Regions from separate parts of the Homo sapiens genome. Here region 2 is linked to region 1. The links are contacts of gene promoters, found by promoter capture Hi-C in blood cells and fetal thymus (Javierre and others, 2016). All regions are on one chromosome and are shown on one strand. The core of a region is centred on a gene start or on the middle of the fragment in contact, and the rest is flanking DNA. Distances in the headings are between cores, read along the strand shown.

Region 1 (5,427 bases), core at 2,694-5,193:
AGACCAGTGTGGCCAACATAGTGAAACCCTGTCTCTACTAAAAATACAAAAAAAAAAAGACAAGCCACTTAAAACTTATATTTAGGAACTTTCTATTTAATATTTTCAGACCATGGTTGACCTCATGTAACTGAAATCATGGAAAGTGAAATGGATGAAATGGCAGATGGGGAGTATCTTTAGAGGTATCTAAAGACACTGCCTCCTCAAGATTACTCTTGCCTCCTTCCCTGCAGGCTCTGAAGAAGCTTCAAGAGCCACTGACCCCAACCAATTATTGATCATCCTGTCACCCTCTCCTCCTGTATTCAGCAGTCCGCCCCAGTTGAAGGTTGACTGTGGAGTACTTTAGGTAAGAAAAGAGCTCCAAGAGCAAGGTACTTTATTGTTTCTGTGGACAAGACGATAGTCCCAGTTTAAAAGGATGTTCAATCAAGCAGATTTTTTTCCTTCCTGACGTGAACAGTACTTCAGGTTTTTCAAAAGATAAGAAAAGTTACTACTAAAGCTATATTTCACTAATAATGAAAATGATTTAGAAGACAAAACCATCACAACTTTGCAACCCCAAATTTATTAATAGATTTAGGCAAATCACCGTGTTAACTAACATCATAAAAAGTGAGTAAAACAGACATTATAGTCCTCCTGAAGAAAGAACACAACACTGAGAAATAGTTTCACCAAAAAAAACTGAACTCAAATGTAAAGAAGCCTCTCTGTCAAATAACCTATTAGAAGATATGCAGGGACAGAGAAAACTACTAAGGACCATCTCAGCAGTCAATTAGTAAAAGCCAGGCCGGGTGCAGTGGCTCATGCCTGTAATCCCAGCACTTTGGGAGGCCAAGGCGGGCGGATCACCTGAGGTCGGGAGTTCGAGACCAGCCTGACCAACATGGAGAAACCCCTTCTCTACTAAAACAAACAAACAAACAAAAAATATTAGCCAGGCGTGCTGGTGCATACCTGTAATCCCAGCTACTCAGGAGGCTGAGGCAGAAGAATTGCTTGAACCCAGAAGGTGGAGTTTGCAGTGAGCCGATTGCACTCCAGCCTGGGCAACAAGAATGAAACTCTGTCTCAAAAAAAAAAAAAAAAAGAGATCAATTAGTAAAATCCAAACTCTTGGCAACTACAGGAATATCCACCATGTTTCTTCAACCAAGAAAAGCAAGAAAATAAAAACGTGCAGGAGAAACTTGGGGATCTATGTAGATTTAAAAGTCAAACTAATCAAATACAAAATAGTCACCTAACTAGGTTCTAATTTCAAGCACATATTTTTATCAAATATTATAATTCAATTTGGAAAGGTAGATGTCTGATGATTATACAAAAATGATTGCTAATAGTGCCTCTCAATGTCTTTTAATTTAATGTAAGGATAAATACGAATATAGATTTTTTAATAGGAGTTTTATGTGGCACAAATTCAAGATATTCCAAAGATTTTTTTTGTTTCTCATGTTTCTGCTGACTGTAATGATAGATATTCTGTTTACAGAGAGCACCTTTGACAAAATTAGAGGGACCACAAGTAAATTGGCGTGAAGCTCCTTCCAAGAAGTATAATTCTTCAATTCCCATATGATAAAAGAACTTCCTCATTGAAGATTTAAGAGTTAAAAAGTGAACTGCACATGTTTATGTGTACATACATATGTTAACATAATACCATAAGAAAAATTTTAATTTTCATTAAATAAAATACGTAATTTTTATAGGTAATATATACATATCATGTAAAATATTTACATATAATATATACATATCATGCTACTATAATACAATAAAAATATTTATAATTATATGAAATTTTAAATATATATTAAAATATATGTGTTTCTAAAGTACATAAGTATTGCTAAAAATTAAAATACATGAGTCAGCAAGGTTCTTTCCCATGTGGCTACCCCCAGCTTAGGTCCTGCTGAAGGCTCCATGCCTTTTACTGAGTCTCCCTCACCTGTACCCCTAAGGTGATTCTCACTGAGATATTCTGTTCCCAGCAGAGGCTCAGAGATGCCCTGTGTGCACTAGTCAGGGGTACACAGAGGACCATGAGCTCCTTATGTCCTTGCAGAACAGATTCGTGGTCCTCCATCCAGAGCAGGAGCACAATACAATCCATCTTTTCTGTTTCTGTTTTGAGTCAGTCTCGCTCTGTCACTCAGGCTGGTCTTGAACTCCGGGCCTCAAGCAATCCTCTCCATTTGGTCTTCCAAAGTGCTGGGATTACAGGCGTGAGCCACCCGCCCAGCCTTTGGTTTAATTTTATGGTGGAATCTGGCCCCATTCAGCCTTAAGCCTTTAGAGTTTCCTTTCCTTCATCCCATTGGTCAGACTCCAGATCAGTGTCCTCCCAACCACAGCCTTTATCATCCTCTCTGTTTGCATCTTCTGCACTAAGGTGTGAAGATTTGAAGATTTCACTTATTGTTCCCTGTTCCTACTTCCCACTCTTCCATCAAATCTCAGACTTCATCACAAGAGGGTATTTTTCTGGGAAGGTAGCTCTAAGTTATTTTATTTATTTATTTTTTATTTTTATTTTGAGACTGAGTCTCACTCTATTGCCCAGGCTGGAGTGCAGTGACCCGATCTTGGCTCACTGCAACCTCCGCCTCCCGGGTCCAAGCTCTTCTCCTGCCTCAGCCTCCCGAGTAGCTGGGATTACAGGCATGCACCACCATGCCCGGCTAATTTTTTGTATTTTTAGAGAGACGGGGTTTTGCCACTTTAGCCAGGTTGGTCTCGAACTCCCGACCTCAGCTGATCCGCCCGCCTTGGCCTCCCAAAGTGCTGGGATTGCATGTGTGAACCACCGCGCCTGGCCAAGTAGCCCTACATTTTAAACAGAAAAGTGCGCCGGCCAGGCGCGATGGCTCACGCCTGTAATCCCAGCACTTTGGGAGGCCGAGACGGGTGGATCACGAGGTCAGGAGATCGAGACCATCCTGGCTAACAGAGTGAAACCCCGTCTCTACTAAAAAATAGAAAAAATTAGCTGGGCGTGGTGTCGGGCGCCTGTAGTCCTAGCCACTCGGGGGGCTGAGGCAGGAGAACAGCGTGAACCCGGGAGGCAGAGCTTGCAGTGAGCCGAGATCGTGCCACTGCACTCCAGCCTGGGCAACACAGCGAGACTCCGTCTCAAAAATAAATAAATAAATAAAAAAGTGCTATGCCGATTCTATGACTTCTTCTGCAAATATTAGCCTCTTTCACTGTCTCATTTACCAAGTTATAAGACTTAAGAGGCTCCTCACAAGGACTAATCCTTCAGCCTTGAAGATTTTACCGTCAAGTTTGTCCAACAAACTCATACTCGTCCCTTAAAATCTACTTTAAATATCAATTCCTCAGACGAGACCTTGGTGAGTCTTAGTTGGTAGGGTGGGGCCTAATCTCCAGGGTGGTAACTACGCAGCCTCTCAACCAGAGACGCAAACTGATCCAAAGAGCTGATTATTCCTCTTGCATTTTAAAACTAACCACCCTGGCCGGGCGCGGTGGCTCACAGCGAGGCAGGCGGATCGCTTGAGCCCATGAGTTCGAGACCAGCCCGGGGAACGTGGCGAAACCCAGTCTCCACCAAAAAATACAACAATCAGCTGGGCGTGGTGGCGCGCGCCTGTGAAGTGGGAGGATCGTTTGAGCCCGGATGGTCGAGACTACAGTGAGCCGAGACCGCACCAGACCCTGTCTCAAAAAAAAAGAAAAAAAAAAAGTTGCTCATAGGAATGAAAAATCTGAAAAGATTGCCATTGTGATTTAAATGACCCACTGAAGCCATCAGGGACCCCACCACGGAGGGAACCGCCCTAGGCTCTCCTCAGAATCTTCTCACGCTCCCTGCACCCTGCGGCATTGAGCATGCTCAGGCCTTTCCCGCCCACTTCCGGTGGAGCAGCCAACCACCGCGCTGGTCAATTGTATGCCTAAAACTCGAAAACCAAGGCGCCCAGGGTTGTGTGAGGGTTTCCGCTCTGCGCCCCGCGGGGTTCCATGGGTCCTGCACAGCATCAGGCCTGAGCCGCCGGTCCAACTGCTCCAGGTAAGCTGGGAGGGCCGCAGGAAAGGCGCAGTAGGGCCTGGCGGGAGGCTTACTTAACTGGGCAGGGGCTTCCTGAGTATCAGCTGTGCCCAAACCTCGGGGTCGCGACCTGTCCACGACTGAGCTCAGACTGTGGATCCTTTTTTTTGTTTCTGAGACGGAGTCTCGCTCTGTCACCCACGCTGGAGTGCAGTGGCGCAATCTCGCCTCACTGCAACCTCCGCCTCCCGGATTCAAGCGATTCTCCTGTCTCAGCCTCCTGAGTAGCTGGGATTACAGGCGCTCGCCACCACACCCAGCTAATTTTTGTATTTTTAGTAGAGACGAGGTTTCTCCATGTTGGCCAGGCTGGTGTCGAACTTCCGACCTCAGGTGGTCCGCCCGCCTCGGCCTTCCAAAGTGCTGGGGTTACAGGCGTGAGCCACCGTGCTCGGCCGGATTCTGTTTTCGCCGCGGAGGCAGTGGGACCCCGATGATTGAACTTTAAAGAAGATTCTGATCTGAACACCAGTTTGGGAAGTGGCCACGTGATCTCCAAAAATTATGGTGGGAGCGTTAAGGAAGGACCTCCCACCCTACAGCGCCAGCACTTCTCTGGCGGATTTTGTCTCCTTCCGTCCTCACAAGGATCTGGCTGTCAGGAAACTGCTACGGATGAGAAAGTTTAGGCTCACTTACGTTTCGTATCATCTAAAGTAATAGAGGTTGAATCTTGAGATCTGGGAATCTCCCACAGGTTTGATTTATATTCACTGAGCCCACACTATGAACCAGCACAAGAATCAGAGTAGGAGCCAGGCGCGGTGGCTCACACCTGTAACCCCATGAGGAGGCCGATGCGGGAGGATCGCTTGAACCCAGGAGTTCTAGCTCACGCTCGTGCCTGGGCAACATAGTGAGACCCCTGTCTCTACAAAAAAAAAAAAAAAAATCCGGGCATGGTGGGGCGTGCCTGTGGTCCCAGCTACTCGGGAGGCTGAGGTGCGAGGATCGCTTGAGCCTGGAGGCAGAGGTTGCAGTGAATGGAGATCGCGCCACTGCACTCCAGCCTTGGCGACAGAGTGAGATCCTGTCTCAAAAAGTAAAATAAATAAGGTAATAGAGGTTGAATTTTTCTTTTTTAATGTGACAAGATCTCAAGCAGTAGAGGTTGAATTTTGAGAGTAGGGAATCTACTGCAGGTTTGATTTATTAGCCTAATAATTATTGAACACACGTTGTACACCAGCATAAGAATCAGAGTTGGTAATTCAGTTGTGAGGAAAATAAGGAAGAATTCAGACCGTGAACTGTACTCTCCAGTGTCCTTAACCAAAGGTTGACAAAAATAAATGTAAAAATCTCAACTGTAATCTGCAGTATGATAGATA
Region 2 (5,554 bases), core at 149-2,648, 450 kb after region 1:
CTGTTTTCAAGCAAAAAAAGCAGTATATAAAATGGCATATAAATGATCACATTTAAAAATTATATAAATACATTGGGAAAAGACTGAAAAAGAGATATATACAAATGTTAGTAGTGGATATCTTTAGGTGGTAAAATTATGGGTAATTTTAATTTTCTTCTTTGTTCTTGTCTGTCTCTACATTTTCTACAATGGATATATATATATATATATATATTTTTTTTTTTTTTTTTAGCAAAAATAAGATCTACCAACCAAATGAAAAATAATAAAAACAACCTCCTACTCTAAATCACACTTTTCCACAGTTAACAGTAGCTTATGTGAAAATAGGATAATTTTAATAGACTAAAGCTGATACACTAGAAACAGCGTGAGCCTTAGGGTTTCACTGACTGGATGTGAACTCTTAGCTGTGTGAACTTAGATATGCTATTTAACACACCCAACTTTCAGATTCCTCCTTGTGAAATGGGTATGAATATCTTTGCATATCCAATACGAATGTTGAAGTGCAGTAAAATAGTTCATGTCAGAACTATTCATAAACAGAGCAGAGCTATACAAATATGAGATCTTATAACCATCAAACCCTACTGATGCCATTAGATTTTCTGTCCTAAAGAACAGCATGGATCACGTTGCCAGTAAAATCTTTTCTTTTCATCAGAGAAGCACTTGGGGTTTGAGAGTCTTCCTAGTTGCTATTAAAAACTCATTGCATAAAAGTATCAAGCTTTTGGCTCCACATTATTTCTTTGGTATACATTTCTTTTTTCCTTTGTTTTGCTTCCAAGATATGAGGGGCAGTGAATCATTCTAAAGACTTAACATGAATTCTTGAAACTTGCCTTTATTTTAAAATTTAAGATGACCATTCCAAAGTAAACATATTTTACAGTCCACTCTGAAAGAGACTCAACCTAATATTCTTTGATAGGAACAATGTTTGAAGTAATTGAGGGAAGTTGGGAAAATAGTAAGCAAAATTTGGAAATAAACTTTACCACATGTTTGAACCACCACAGAGGACAAATCTTGTTCTGCAGTTCAATTATTTTCTTTTCTCCTCATATTATCCTTAACTATTCATAATAACAATGTGTGAACCACTACAGATCAGACAGCGATGTCCCAAAATTTGTGAGTTGCATGCTGGTTTTCAAGTTACAAAGAGAGGATAACTGGCAGCCCACAAAAATAAAACTTTGAAAGAAATTTAAACACTTTTGAAACATTTTTTATTAAAAATCTGAGAAAGTTAGACATGAGGAATACTGCTTTTGTAGGAACCTTTATTTTTTCTGTGAGGACAACAGCAAAATAGTTGAAATATGACCAGCTTTCAGTTTTTTCCTTTACCTTTCCTATGTCTTTTCTGTCAAGTGATCATACCAATGATTATTAAATTTATAATCCTTTTAATCTCTCATCTGAACAGCTTGCTCCTGAGACCAAGGCTGTCATTCATTGGATTATGGATATTCCTTTTGTGCTTTCTGCCAATCTCCATGGAGGAGACCTTGTGGCCAATTATCCATATGATGAGACGCGGAGTGGTAGGTATTCTTTCTGCTTCTCTTATTGGTTCAAAGTTTATAACACTGTACAAGGTTTTATAAGATGATTTCTGTAATTTTTTTTAAGGAACTGAACATTAAGTGATTTTTGCCTGAAGAAAGAACTATGTTTAACAGGAAGCTCTCCTAATCATTTCATATGGTGTTGGCATATCTATTTGGCAGAAAAGGACTCACTTTTTCAATAGGTTAGGTGAAGAGAAACGTGATCTTGACAGTACCTAGCCAACAGAAAGGGAGAAAACACACGTCATAAACTTGGGTCACTCTTGGACACTGATAAAGTGGAGAGATTACAGAAGTTGTGTAGGTTCATGTAGAAGATGGCTTAAACATGGGGGCAGCCTCTTGGTGCTTGATCAGGATCCCTGTGGATCTCTACATGTGTCTTATTGTGTTGACACAGTTTTGCATTTGGAACTGTTTCTGGTGGTGTCAGGGAGGGGAAGTGGTGCTTTGGCTTTCTCTAACTAGTTTTAGTTAAGCTTCAGACAAAGCAAGCTTTAGCCAGACAGATATTTTCAAATTGTTTTTTGTTGCTCCAGGGAATTTCCTGCTTTGGATCTATTTTCTGGGGCCTTTGAAGAGTTAGCTTTTTGTAAAAACAGGATGATTAGTTTGTTTTTTTTTTTTTAATTTTAGATTCGGGGTACCTGTGTAGGTTTGTTACACGGATATATTACATAATGGTGAGGTTTGGGTTTCTAGGGTACCCATCACCAAAAGAGTGAACTCAATAGGTAATTTTTCACCCCTCACCTCCTCCCATCCTCCCCGCTTTTGGAGTCCCCAGGGTCTATTATTTCCATCTTAATGTCCAGGTACACCCATTGTTTAGCTTCCACTTATAAATGAGAGTATGTGGTATTTGATTTCTGAATTATTTCGCTCCAGATAATGGCTCCTAGCTCCATCCATGTCGTTGCAAAATACATGATTTCATTCTTTTTAATGGCTGCTTAGTATTGCATAGTGTATATGTACCACATTTTCTTTATCTAATCAACCATTGATGGACAATTAGGTTGATTCCATGACTCTGCTTTTGTGAATAGTGCTGCCATAAACATATGAGTGCACATGTCTTCTTTATATAATAATTTCTTTTCCTTTGGATGCATACTCAGTAGTGGGATTACTAGGTTGAATGGTAGTTCTATTTTTAGTTCTTTGAGAAATCTCTGTACTGTTCCTCATAGAAGTTATATTAATTTACATTTCCACCAACACTGGTGGGAATCCACGACAACATCTGTTGTTTTTTGACTTTTTAATCATAGCCATTCTAAGTCATGTAATATGATATTGTGGTTTTAATTTGCCTTTCTCAGATGATTAGTGATGTTGAGGATTTTTCCAATTATTTTGACTGCTTGTATGTCTTCTTTTGAGAAAAGTCTGTTCTTGTCCTTTGCCCACTTTTTAATGGGGTTGTTGGGATGATAATTTTAGATATTGGAAACTGAGTGTTGAAGAACGTCTTTGGGGAAATAACATTGTTAAATAAATTTGAAGACTTTGTGGTTTGTTGATAATTGGGAAACTTGTAGGCCTGCATAATTTATAATGCATGAATAAGAACACAGTGTATCAAAATATGTTATTTATTTCTATAATACATACAGGAGATTTAAAAAATATAAAACCAGATATTGAATGGTATATATGAGAATGATTCATAGTGGGTATGAGGTTAGTATAGGTACATTTTTTAAATTAAAGATTTAATGATAAAAATCTTCCTCCTATTCTCCCAGGCCTAGTTTACTATGACTTTATTACCTTTCCCTGCAAAGCTTTCAACTCATAAGTAGAATGTACATTCTACCCAATTTCTACTTTGTAGTATTAGGAATGGAAATTTTGTAACTTAAAACTAAGTGTAATTATTTAGTATTTAAATTTTACCTCTTTCCCATAGTTATGTAGCTAAAAAAATACATCAACAATACAATTACTCAATACTGAATCACTCTTTAGAAAACATGCTGTGCTGCTTGGTCTGTGTCTGTTTCTTTAATCTTGTGGATTTGTTTTCTAGGTAGTGCTCACGAATACAGCTCCTCCCCAGATGACGCCATTTTCCAAAGCTTGGCCCGGGCATACTCTTCTTTCAACCCGGCCATGTCTGACCCCAATCGGCCACCATGTCGCAAGAATGATGATGACAGCAGCTTTGTAGATGGAACCACCAACGGTGGTGCTTGGTACAGCGTACCTGGAGGTGAGTTTCCATTGTGCTCTCTGATTATGTGATTGTAGCTTATTTACAATGACCATTTAGGTTTAGAGAGTGATTTAGATTTAGAGAATCTTCAATCGTCCTCCATCATTAAAAAGTAGACTGAATCTATAGTTCTTCCATTAAAGTCAACTTTTTGCGTGAATGATTACTATGTATAATTTTGTTTTTGTGGATTTTAAAAATTGTGATGCTAATTGAAGAGATACAGGAAATGAACTGAAGACATTCATTTGGAAAATAATAAATTGAATATTGTTAACTACCCTACTTTCCAAATTCAAGCCTTAGGGAATAAGATGGCATCCTTAGTTTATGCCAGTCATGCTCTTTCACTGTAGGTAAATATATATTTTAGAGGGCTTGTTTTGGCTTTTAGCATAACCTGGTGCACAGTACTTTTGTATTAAATGATGGGATAATGGGGAGTATTTGACATGGAATATTTAGTTTATGTTCACTATTCTAATAATCTCTATGAGATCAGGTAGCTTTTTGCCTTTTAGTCTGAAAAGGAAGCAGTTGCCATGTGGGACAGCAGCTGGGGGAAGCCCCTTCCTAGGTAGCCAAGGAAGCTCTCTTGCCTTCCTTGTCCCAAGGCGGACTTTACAGAGCTCGTATTTTCACTAACACTCAAGGATGAAGAGTGAAATGCGAAGATATTTATATATATTTTTACTTTTCTCTTTGCCTGAGAAAAATTTTCTATGGCCCACCTGGAAAAAGAAAATTTGTTAGGGTAATAAGCAACATTAGCTAATTGAAGGGTATTGGTATGTTTAATATGCTTAATTTTGTTGAATTATGTGCTGAGAAAAATATTCTTTCTGATTTTTTTCTTTCTGATACATGTTAATTCTGTTTTTATTTATATTTTGCATTTTATCCAGATCAGACTTAGTACTCTTTCCCCAATAGCTTCAGAAATATGATCTATGTCAAATTTAGGATTTAGAGCATGTCTAGTACATCAGATGGGAAGTAATTTTATACTTTAGTTTTTATAAAAACTTTAATGACTTCTTGGAATTCCTTTTTGAACAAATAGTGTATTGTCAACAAAATATAAAGTAATCTATATCAGTTAAATACTGATAATAACATTATTAACAATAGTAATAATGTTAGTTAACGATTACGTCTCGCTTAACTAAACAGTCAAAGGAAGCTCCGTTAGTCTTCAGTTCTGTATATAGTGAATAACATTCATGTCTTAGGTCAGGTTTTCTAGAAGCAGAGCCTGAGATAGGGATTTGGGTACTTGTAATTTATTAAGGGATTACTTTTTAGGACAAACCCTGTAGGGAAGTGAGGGAAGCAGGGCAAGGAAGGGGATAGAGCTAAACAGGGTTGTGGTCTCAGGCAAAGTCCAGCCTTGGCCTGAGCCATTGGAAGAAGCCTGGAGCATAAATTAGGGGCAGGTTTGTCTCCCCTTGAGAGAAAGGGACCAGCCTTTGGTGGCTCCATATCTGTCAGCCATTGGTTGTGGGGTGCCAGCAGGAATTGGGGGTGAGAGATAGCATGATGTAACTCCCAAGCCAGGTGGGAGATTCTGGCTCCCATCAGCAATTCTCTGGAAAAGGGGTGGGGGGGTAGCTGTGAGCTCTAACAGCCAACACCTGCAGCAGTTTGGGTCTGGATGCCCTGCCTCCATAAAAGCAATCTGGTGGGCACTAACAGCATCCTCTGCTAATTTGAGTCAGATTTAAATTAAAATTGTTCTGAATGCAGA

Evidence for each region. The method cuts DNA at HindIII sites, captures the fragments that hold promoters and counts their contacts. A CHiCAGO score of 5 or more calls a contact.
Region 2: a contact is called between a fragment that was not itself captured here and the fragment with the promoter of TRIM60 in region 1, in 2 of 17 cell types (total CD8 T cells and monocytes). The highest score is 5.5, in total CD8 T cells.

What each region holds. Positions count from the first base shown.
Region 1 is chr4:165,028,056-165,033,482 of GRCh38, forward strand. It overlaps TRIM60 (tripartite motif containing 60), which reads left to right and starts at 3,944. Exons shown (of 3, transcript NM_152620.3): 1 at 3,944-4,057. RefSeq lists an enhancer at 3,446-4,102. The HindIII fragment of the contact is 7,154 bases long and covers 247-5,427 here.
Region 2 is chr4:165,480,801-165,486,354 of GRCh38, forward strand. CPE (carboxypeptidase E) reads left to right here. Exons shown (of 9, transcript NM_001873.4): 4 at 1,442-1,559; 5 at 3,622-3,804. Among named protein-coding and RNA genes, the nearest start is that of MIR578, 97 kb to the left of the region's middle. The HindIII fragment of the contact is 1,329 bases long and covers 735-2,063 here.